2 separate regions of the Homo sapiens genome follow, and region 1 is linked to region 2. Evidence: promoter capture Hi-C in human tissues and cell types (Jung and others, 2019). All regions are on one chromosome and are shown on one strand. Each heading gives the region's core, a stretch centred on a gene start or on the middle of the fragment in contact. The rest is flanking DNA. Distances are from core to core; before and after follow the strand shown.

Region 1 (5,785 bases), core at 1,923-4,422, 310 kb after region 2:
ACTATATGTTATATACATGTATATAATATATAACTATATGTTATATATAACTATTCTATACGTGTATATAATATATAACTATATATTCTATACGTGTATATAATATATAACTATATATTCTATACGTGTATATAATATATAACTATATATTCTATACGTGTATATAATATATAACTATATATTCTATACGTGTATATAACTATATATTCTATACGTGTATATAACTATATATTCTATACGTGTATATAACTATATATTCTATACGTGTATATAATATATAACTATATATTCTATACGTGTATATAACTATATATTCTATACGTGTATATAATATATACACGTATATAATATATAACTATATATTATATATAACTATATATTATATACACGTATATAACATATTTATATAATAATATAATATATTATATTATTATTATATTTATAGAATAATATATATTATTATATATATATAAATATATAATAATATATATTATTCTATAAATATAGAATATATATTATTATATATACTTATATATAATATATACATAGTATAATATATAATTTATATAATATATAATATATATAATTTATATATATTATATAAAATATATAAATTTATATATATTTATATAATATATATAAATATATATAAATATAAAAATATAAATATATATAAATTTATATATATAAATATATTTATATATATTATATACAATATAGTATACAATTATTAATAACTATATATAATATACATGTATATTATATATAGTTATATATAATATATAGTTATATATATTATATACATGTATATAATATATATAACTATATCCTTCTCTGATGGGAAAATCCAACATTTAAACAAAATAAACAGAAATATAAATATTTAATTTATAATTATGTTTAGTGCTATGAAAGGAACAAATAAGGTTTTATTTAAGAATAACTGGAGGGAGAAAGTGGAGAAAAATATACTTTTCAAGTTAGACCATATTACATACAGATGAAATCTGATTTAACCTGTAACATAACCAGATTTATGTAGCAAATTAAACATAAATTTTTTCATATACTTAATCTATTTATTTGTGTATTCAATAGCATTTATCTTCTTTGAGCCCTATAATGATCCAGCTATTAGGCTCACAAAAATGACCAGGACTCAGTTCCTGTCTTTGAGGAGCTCATAGTTTTTTTTTATTATTATTATTATTAATTAGCAGTGCCTTTCATTAAAATAATTGCATACCAAATGGAAACAAATATGTTCCTTTTCCTCTTTCATTCTTCTTTAGATGAGGATAGGAATTCACTCAGGCTCCGTGCTGGCTGGAGTTGTTGGGGTGCGAATGCCACGTTATTGCCTGTTTGGAAATAATGTCACACTGGCAAGCAAATTCGAGTCGGGAAGTCACCCTCGGCGCATCAATGTCAGCCCAACCACTTACCAGTAAGTGTTCTCTGGCCTCCTCCTTCCTGTCTTGGCCTTTGTTTTGGGCTGCTATGCTGTCATCTGTGAGTCCCTGTTCTTTTTCTTGATCCTGTCATTCTCCAAGATATTATGAGTAGAACTGCCCAAACCCAAAAGATAGATAGTAATTGTGACACAAACTTTTATTTGCACTCTGTGAGAGTGCATGAAAAATCTGACATGACTGAGAGGTGAATATAGGTTTGTCATTTCCCACAGTCTCTGTCCTTCTTAAGTATACCTGTTTAAAATACAGGAGAGCAAATGTTCTTAAGGATCTGCATTATAATAGAAATCTCAATATTTTCAAAATGTTTCTGTTTATAAAAATGGAAGAAATACAATAGAAAAGGTGGTTGGACTGTTTTTTTGAATAAATAAATAAAGTCTTTAAATTTATATATATATAAATTATACCTTACTCAAAATGCTTGGGACCACAAGTGTTTTACGGTTTGAAATTTTTTGAGTTTTGGAATATTTGTGCATATTACCTGGTGAGCATCCCAAATTTGAAAATCTGAAATCCAATATCTTCCAAAGAGCATTTCCTTTCAGTATCGTGTTGGTTCTCAAAAAGTTTCAGATTTTGGAGCATTTTGGACTTTGGGATTTTGAATGCTCTGCTATACCAGGTACAGAGTAAAACATTAAATTCTTTTTATCTTAAAGGTAATCTTTGACAACACTACACATTTTTGCCTCCTGAATTCATTCTTATTTTGTGTCTGGTAGAAATTTCCCCTATTAGATATTAAGCCCTGTATATGGGCAGCGACTGTGTCTCTCACAGTCATAATGATGAGTTTGGCTCATCATTATATCCCCAAACTTATAAAAATGTCTAGCCCATAATAAGCACTCTGTAAATATTTATCAAATTAATGAATAAATACATTGATAAGATGGACATTTTCAAAATTAACAGCAAAGAAAAGCATGAAAATGTCTTACTTTATCACACTTTGGCTTTATTCTGGGCATTACTGTACAGCTGCTTAATTAATTTCATGTTTTAGGTAACTTAGAATCATACTGAAAAAAATGTATAGTAGGAATAGTGGCCATTGATTTTTCTATTAACATGGTTACAAAAAACTCAAGCAGAAAATTTGAATATAAAGATAAAAGTTGACTATAATAATAAATAAAATAGTGATATTTTCAAACTTTTGATACCAAATTAGAGGGTAATTTGGTATCAGAAATTCCAGAGAGGGAATTTAAAGTTTTTAGATGAAAGCAGATACTTCCAGATTCTGCAAAATAGATGAGAAAGAAAACTGAAATTACAAATATAAAATTAAGAGAAAGTGCACATTAAAAATACATTTTAAAGCTCTTGCTAAGCTCATTAAAGTAGTGGATACCTTGATTTTACAGTTTTTGAATAAAGACACACCTCTTACTAATTTTAAGGAACCCAAGAGATTTTGAGGGCCTCACAGACAACTTCTGGACAAAGTTTCAGGATTCTATCTAATCATTACTTATCTAAGAACTATATGCTATTTTCAGGATATTTATAAGAGGATTTGCATCTTTTAAACTTCTCCCAATTTTCCCAACACAATTCTGGGCATATTACAGATGATCTGACAACAATTACCATGGCAAATTGAATTTTGTCAAATTCTCTAGTAGAGATCAGTGATTCTGATACTTTCTGCTCTATACGATGAAAAAAGTTACTGAAGATCAGCTACCTCACTCATATCCTATTACATGGTTCCATTTATTCCCATCATGGTATTGATACTTATTTTCCATGTTTGTGTAACTTAGTGTAGATTTATGTCTTCTGTGACAACTTCACTTAAAAAAAAAAAAAAAAGATGTGTAAAAGAATGGGCCCAACCTGTGTGAGGAGTTCATGCCCTGTTGCTTAGACATCATAACAGTAGCTGGCTTTGTTTACATAGTGATGTATTAAAAAAAAAAAAAACTCTGCCAGCCATACAAGTCTGTGCATTTTGGTGGTGACTCAGAGTTTTTGTAGTCTTTTTCACAGTTTATGATGATCCTTAGTGATTAACAAGGTCTGAGGAATGAAATCATTTCAACTACTGCATACACTGAAGCTTACTGTTGTGTTATTGTTCTGCACCTTCACCCCCAGGCCCCCCAAAATCAAACAGAGCCATAGATAGACACGTTGAGCTGACAGGTGGGTAGATTCTTAGAACAAATATAATTTATGAAGTAAAACCCAGTATTAAGCTCATGAGAGTTTGAAATCTCTATTTTATCCCTGAATTACATTCTGTAGAATGTCCAACATTACCTGTTTATCTTGAAAACTATATGATTATTATAAACTTTGGAAGTGGACTGTTTTGATATTATGATAAACTGAAATCATTTTTTGAATTGTTCATTCCAAATGCATTTTGTCTTAAATATTCAAATAATTGAATTTTAAAAATATTTTTGTAACTATTGTGGAGTACTGAAAAGATAATAAAATATCCATGATCCTACCATAGTTAAACACTTTATATTTTGCTTCAGATATTTCTTAATAAAAATGAACAAAACATTTTCTTTGTAATTTTCTCAGTCTTTCATTGTGACATCCTAATGAGTTTGGTGTGTTTCAAAGGCCCGTGTTTTGTTTTTCCTTCTTTTTTTTGAGACGAGTCTTACTCTGTCGCCCAGGATGGAGTGCAGTGGCACAATCTCCGCTCACTGCAACCTCCGCCTCCCGGGTTCAAGGGATTCTCCTGCCTTAGCCTCCCAAGTAGCTGGGACTACAGGTGCGTGCCACCACACCTGGCTAATTTTTTGTATTTTTAGTAGAGACGGGGTTTCATCTTTTTAGCCAGGATGGTCTCCATCTCCTGACCTCGTGATCTGCCCTCCTCGGCCTCCCAAAGTGCTGGGATTATAAGCCTGAGCCACTGCGCCCTGCCTCAGTCCCATGTTCTATATATTAACTTTCTACATATGTATCCATGAACAATATAATTTTATTTTACATGTTTTAATTTTCATAAATGGTATTTTACTGTATGACTGTTATCACTAACTTTGGTTTCTTTTAAACACAATTTAATACTTTTAAGATCTATCCATGTTGGAGCATCTTTCTTTGGAAATTCCAAAGAAAGAATGGGTTTGGTAATTTGGTCGAAGGTGCATTTTGAGCTGTAACTAAAAGCTGAGATAGTAATCAGTTTATTCCTATGTGTTTTTATTAACAAAAGTCCCTTACTGATGACTGTCTAAATCATAGACAGCTCTAGCTCATCATTTTAATCGCTGTATGACATTTCAGTGTATGACTCCACCATATTTTAATATTTCATACATATATTCCTCTGTTGATCAACACTTCGGTATATTTTCTATTTTTTAATTATCACAAAGTTTGTTCCTGTGAACATTATTTACATGACATTACAAAAAAGAAATTTTTATTGAGTTTTAAGTTTTCCAAATTAGACATTTTCATTTTTCTTCAATAAATGTGTTTACACACATTTTTGTTCCCATCATCCCAATGATGGGATAAGTTTTTTATGGGATATGGATTTTAAATAGTGCACATAATATATGCACCATTAATATATGCACTTTAAATAGTGCATATAATATATATATCATATATACTAATATTACTTTACTGCATATAATATATATTTTAAAATAATGCATATATTATAAACAACTGTCTTAACATCATGCTGCTGATCTATAAAACAGAAATAATTGCTTATATGAAGGATGGCTTTAGCAAATTTTGAAATAAATGATTTATCTCAGCATAATTATTTTTTCTTGCTACAGTGCAAACTAAAAGTGTAGAAAGACTTGAATTACTTTGGTATGAAATTTTTCTTAATCTTTAAACATTTTTGCTTTTCTCATTTTACAATTGATCTACTTCCAGATGTTTTAGAACGCCTATTTTTAATTGACTGTGAAAGGCTTCTTTCTGTTAAAACCAAGCTTCTTCCTAACCACTGCTACCTGAACAGCTCATTGTATGAGAGCATGTACAGTCGAGCAGATTAGGCAGTGGTGAAGTGCATGAGCTCAGAATCAAAATGCCTAAGGTAGAATCCAGGCTCTAAATTTTCCTGTCTACATGAACTTTAGTGACTTAATTTCTTTGGACCAAGTTATCTCATCTCTAAAATGGGTACATGTTTATGAAGATTATTGTTGGCATTTAATGTGATATTTTTAAAGCTCCTTATACTTGGAACATATTAGACATTCATTTACTGCTTCATCCTGTTCTTTCCATGGAGGAAGAAACCATCTTATTCCTTCACTTGAATCTCATAATTTATAAATTTAGCCATGATGAAT
Region 2 (5,541 bases), core at 73-2,572:
AACCCATCTGCCTTCACCTGGAAGGACCAGTTCTTTAATTAAAAAAACGCTTTGGCTTCGGTTTCACTGGGAAACTAAAGCCAGAGCCCCTAAACTTTTCTCTCCGCAGATCGGGTGAGCTGGGGAGGGTGCTCATCCACTTCATTGCAGGGGGAAGTACAGCCTGGAACCCCTTTCGGGATACTGTCATTTGCCCCTTCTTCCCATCTCTTACTCTATCCTCAGAACCAGTATGAGAGTTTTCTGGGGCTAAGGCAAGGGGCAGTGGGGTCAGGCGCTGGAAGGACTGGTTTGCAAAGAGATAAGCTTTGGAATGAAGCCGCACAGCTGAAAACTCGCGGCAAGACATGCTCGCGCTGTGGCGAGTCAGTTCGAGAAGCATTTATCCCTACTCCCCTTAGCTTTCTGAGCAGCATTTGCAGTCAGGTGCAAACAGATCGCATATTTGGCGCAAAGAGCCCTGAGGATGAGGGACGTGGGATCATTCCCCGGTTTCCCCCGGGCCAGGTGCTAGGTCGTTTGAGGAGGAACTGTTCTCCAGTTCTCAACGCCTGCAAAGGCGGCTATAGGTGGCAAGCGGAGCTGTCCAGCACTAGTGAGGAGCCAGCGGAGCCGGGAGCCCCGCGCACCCCGCCCGGCTGAGGCTCAGCAACAGTGCTGTCTTGTCAGAGCAGACGCTGTCCTCACTGCCGCCCCTTTCTGGGCTCGCTCCGCGCCCACACGGCCTCGCACGAGGCGGGGAACACAAGTCCCCAGGAGCTGCTCCAGCAGGATGGGCGCCAAAATGTTGCCCCTGTCCTTCCCTTCCCCTGAAAGCGTCTCCTCTGGAGTGGGCTGGCTGGACGCTTGGCCTTTCCCTTTTGCCTCGGAACTTCCTAAATAAACTCGGAGAAAGGACAACATGGACCCTAACCCCCACTTCACACTGTCAGGTTTCCCCAAGGTGGCTCCAGGGGGAGGCCTCTCGCCCCCCAGCCCCGAGCCCTTCTCCCCACCAGCGCCGCCGGGACCCATCTGCTCCCGAGGGCCGAGGATAAGGCGTTTGGGGTTGGGGCCCTCAGTCCGACCCGAGCTCCTGTGCGCACCTCCTCGGAGCAGGGAGGGCGCGCAGAGGACAGCAACGAAGTGTCCTCGTTGCTCCTGAAACGTGGCGACAGGCGAGGCAGAGACTCCCAATGAGTATGATGGCGACACGTGATTCCCGCGGAGGGAGAGCATGGGGGGGGGCGGGGGGATAAAGGGAGAAGGAGGGAGGCAGGGCAGCAAGTGGAGAGAGGCGGGAGCAGAGAGGGAAAGGGGGCGAGATAGGCGCGCAGGCGGCAGAAGCCTCTGCCTCTGCCTCCCCTTCTGCTTGGGCCGCAGCCCTCCCCGCCCCGCCGACCGCGGTCACACACTCTCGGAGCCTCCCCGTGAGCGGGAGCGCGGCGCACGGCGATGCGCCGAGGCGGGCGCTGAGGCGGCGCCGCGCGAGCAGCAGCAGAGGCGGCGGCGGCCCCCAGCCCAGCCCGGCGCCGCCGCCGAGCCCGGGCCCCAAGGTGCGGCGGCGCCCCAAGTTCCCGCCATGAGCAGCCGGCTCGGGGGGCTCCGCGGCCCCGGGGACTCCCGCCCCGCCGGGCGCGACCGCAGCGCCCCGCGGCCCCGACGCGCTTAACGTTGTCGCTTGCCGGTCCCGCCACCGCCGCCTCCGCCGCCGCTCGCGTCCTCGCCGCCACCGCCTCGGCCGCTGCAGCTCCGCCGGCAGCATGTCTCGAAGGAAGATTTCGTCCGAGTCCTTCAGCTCCCTGGGCTCCGACTACCTGGAGACCAGCCCGGAGGAGGAGGGGGAGTGCCCCCTGTCTAGGCTCTGCTGGAATGGCAGCCGGAGCCCGCCCGGGCCGCTGGAGCCCAGCCCGGCCGCAGCTGCCGCTGCCGCCGCCCCGGCCCCGACCCCGGCTGCTTCTGCCGCCGCCGCCGCTGCCACTGCCGGGGCCAGGAGGGTGCAGCGCCGGAGGCGGGTCAACCTGGACTCGCTGGGCGAGAGCATCAGCCGCCTGACGGCGCCCTCGGTGAGCGGGGGGCGGAAGGGGGGACCGCCTTCGGGGGAGAGAACGCGGATCTGTAAAGTTGGCGCTGGGCGAGCCGGGGCGCGAGCGCAGAGCCCGACCGCTGGGGGGCGGCCCGGCCTTACCCTGCACGGCCTAGGGTTCCAGTGGCTCCGGCGACAGAGGATCCCCTAGGCTAGGGCGGAAGAGGGGACTACAGCACTGGGAAGGAATAAGATTCCACTCCTTTGGGGTATCCTGATTCGGGGGCCTGTCTGCCCACCTCTAGCCTTGAACCCTACTTCACCACTGTTCCCCCTGGACAGCCCCAGTGCTGCTTCACACCCACCTGTTTTCTTTCCCCTAAACTTTCCCAGGCACTGTGTTCTGCAGTTCAGCTTCCCTGTCTTTCATCCTGTTCTCCAGCATCCCAAAGGAGCCCCAACCCCTTCCAGGAAACCCTTCCTCTCCTTATTTCCCACACTCTCTTGGTCTTAGCGTGACCTTCTCTGACATCTTTGAATTCCACAGGCTATCTGCATTCTATGTTGCATCCTTTTTCTCACATCTTCAGATACTTTTTGCCAGATACTTTTCTGAGTTGCCTTCTGTTCAAGTAATCTCTAATCTCGAGTTGTCCTCACCCCGTAGCTTTTTTTCTTTTTCTTTCTTATCCACTAGGCATTTATTCTTCTCTGGGTAAACCTGGTGTCTGGATTTCTTTTTTTTTAAATTAAATTTAATTTAAAGTCCCGGGTTACATGTGCAGGATGTGCAGATTTGTTACATAGGTACCAAACGTGTGCCATGGTGGTTTGCTGCACCTACTAACTCATCACCTAGGTATTAAGCTTCGCATGCATTAGCTATTTAAACCGCTCTGTACTTCTTGCACCTGTACCTCATCCTTTACTCTCTCCTCAATGGATTCTCTAGTGCTTTCTCTCTCACATTAGCTATTTAAACCTCTCTGTACTTCTTGCACCTGTACCTCATCCTTTACTCTCTCCTCAATGGATTCTCTAGTGCTTTCTCTCTCACATTAGCTATTTAAACCGCTCTGTACTTCTTGCACCTGCACCTCATCCTTTACTCTCTCTTCAATTGATTCTCTAGTGCTTTCTCTCTCATTTTTTGGTGGCTTCTTTATATTAGGCCCTTCCTAAATATTTGTGGAATGAATAAATGCCTCTCCAAACTTGTGGTCATCTTGGGATGTCTGTATCAGCAGTTTCAGGTGTACAACAAACTCCCCCTGGTTGTAGGCATCCTTCCAGAGGAGTACTGCCTTATTCCTGCCCAGGCATTTCAGCTACCCTTGGCTTTTACCTCTTGCAGGAATGCCAGACCTCTGATCCAATCTTACCGTGTCTGGGAGAGCTCTGTTTTAAAGAAATCCACTCTGTTGCAGACAGAATTTGAAAAAGATTCAGCGTCAAACCTCCACCCATCTTTTATGCTCACCCTGACCTTGGATACAAGAGCTTTAGCTCCTCCTGACAGCACTTTCACCTGCCCACCCCTAGGACTTTTACTTTTTTAAAGTTTCCGAAATGAATCTGAACACTGATCTTGTTTGATTACTGTTGAGTCTCTCTTTTGAGATTACTACTGCAAATGATGGTAGGGGGGACCTAAGAAGGAGTGGAACCCTGAGGGGACTGAGTACGGGTACCAGACAGGTCTACAAATATTCTTGTGGCACTTGTATTAATGGAGAATGATTTTTTTCTTTTACGAGACCTGATTGAAGATGTATAAATCACTTATTACATTATTTATTTTGAACTAATTTAATTCTTAGGAACACATATTGAGAAACAGTCATCTTCCTATTCTTGTGTATTTTCGTATTTGATATATCTTTCTGCCACTTTTTCTTTCATCATTAACCTAGAAAACAATCCTCAGAATAGATTGGCTACTCTTTGCTGTTCTTCCCTGCCAATATTTCCCAGGCAGCGTAATTTTATAAACTATTTGATGTTGCAAATTGTTGAAAATATTTATTTACAACAGGAGTCCAATGACCCCGAGCGTCTGTAGGCTTGTGTCAGTACTTAAAGCAACATTTGTGCAATAAAATAGTTATTTAGTACAACAGATTCTTATTTAATGAAATGATTTTGCTAAAGATAATGATTAGTTTGGGGAGAATTGTTGATATAACCTTGGAGGTTTTTTTTTTTTTTTTTTTTTTTTTTTTTTTTTTTTTGCCTAAGAGAATTTACAGATTTCTAAAAAGTAATGTCAATGCCTCTGATAATGCTAATTTAAGCTAAGACTATTTTCAACAACTTACATGAGGAGTAGATAAAAGAAACTGAGAAATGCAGTATTTTCTGCTAGAATAAGAGGAAGGAAATAGTCTCTGATGGTTACTTTTATAAGTTAAATTTGAATGACTGGCTTTTTGCTGGATGAAAAGAATGTATCCAGAGAATGGTTTTCAGAATAAGCAATTTAAAAATAATTGTGATGATCAAATAAATGCAACAGCTCTATATACTTTCCATGCCATAGTTGTTTTCTATTATGAAAAGGGTCTGTCAGGTGGACGCTGAGAACATACAGGTGAATATACTGTAAACATTTTCAACATAACACATGTATAGAAAAATTCTCCTTGGTTAACCATATCATCAATAGACTTAGTGACACAAATAAAAGAGAGAGATTATATTTCAAAGCAGTGACTCATTTCTGGGCAGTCCTTACCTTATTTTATTTGGCAAGTTAGAACACTAGCTCAAAAAGTTCCAGTAGATTCATTTTTTGACATTGTCAGGATTTGAAACTTCTTTGAATACTCTTCAGGAGATGGATTATGTCCTCTCTATTCTCTCATGAAAGCTGGACATTTTTTTGTTTTTGAACCACTGAGAGTAGCCATTACCAGAGCCTTTTTAGATGGGAATTTCTAGTTGTTTTGAATGTTGTGAGCTTTCTTGCATGCCATCACAATATACTTCAGGAGAAACTGTACTTGCCATGGAAGCTCCTGTTTTGTCAGTTGTCTCATCGTGGCATGTCTCAGTCACTTGGGATTTCTTCTTTATTCAGAATGATTTGCAAATAGAAAAATGAAAATTTATTTATTAAACTAGTTATTTGACCCATGGGATATCCACACTCAGGTTTTTGATGCTTAATAGTCACTTTAAGATGCACCGATGTTGAGTATAAAGGTTATAATAATTTCTAATACTATTTAATAAGAGTAAGTTGTATTGGTGAAATTGAAAAAAAATTCCAGAATTCGGGAGACCTGATTCTAATTTTGCCTTGAACAATGAGAAACTTACATATCTCTGGACACATTACTTTAAATATCTGGGATTTCCCAGGCTTTGGACAAACTGTCATATTGGCATATGAAAGGGAAACATGGGCCAGGCGTGGTGGCTCATGCCTGTAATCCCAGCACTTTGGGAGGCCGAGGCAGGCAGATCACTAGGTCAAGAGATTGAGACCATCCTGGTCAACATGGTGAAACCCCGTCTCTACTAAAAATACAAAA

What was found. The method cuts DNA at HindIII sites, captures the fragments that hold promoters and counts their contacts. A contact is called where the count stands out against the background at its distance.
Region 1: a fragment that was not itself captured here is called in contact with the fragment with the promoter of GUCY1A2 in region 2 in 1 of the 25 tissues and cell types used here (H1 embryonic stem cells).

What each region holds. Positions count from the first base shown.
Region 1 is chr11:106,704,174-106,709,958 of GRCh38, reverse strand. It overlaps GUCY1A2 (guanylate cyclase 1 soluble subunit alpha 2), which reads left to right. Exons shown (of 8, transcript NM_000855.3): 7 at 1,293-1,447. Among named protein-coding and RNA genes, the nearest start is that of GUCY1A2, 310 kb to the left of the region's middle. The HindIII fragment of the contact is 7,782 bases long and covers 1-5,785 here.
Region 2 is chr11:107,014,257-107,019,797 of GRCh38, reverse strand. It overlaps GUCY1A2 (guanylate cyclase 1 soluble subunit alpha 2), which reads left to right and starts at 1,322. Exons shown (of 8, transcript NM_000855.3): 1 at 1,322-2,045. The coding sequence starts at 1,743. RefSeq lists a silencer at 1,799-1,928. The HindIII fragment of the contact is 5,267 bases long and covers 1-4,720 here.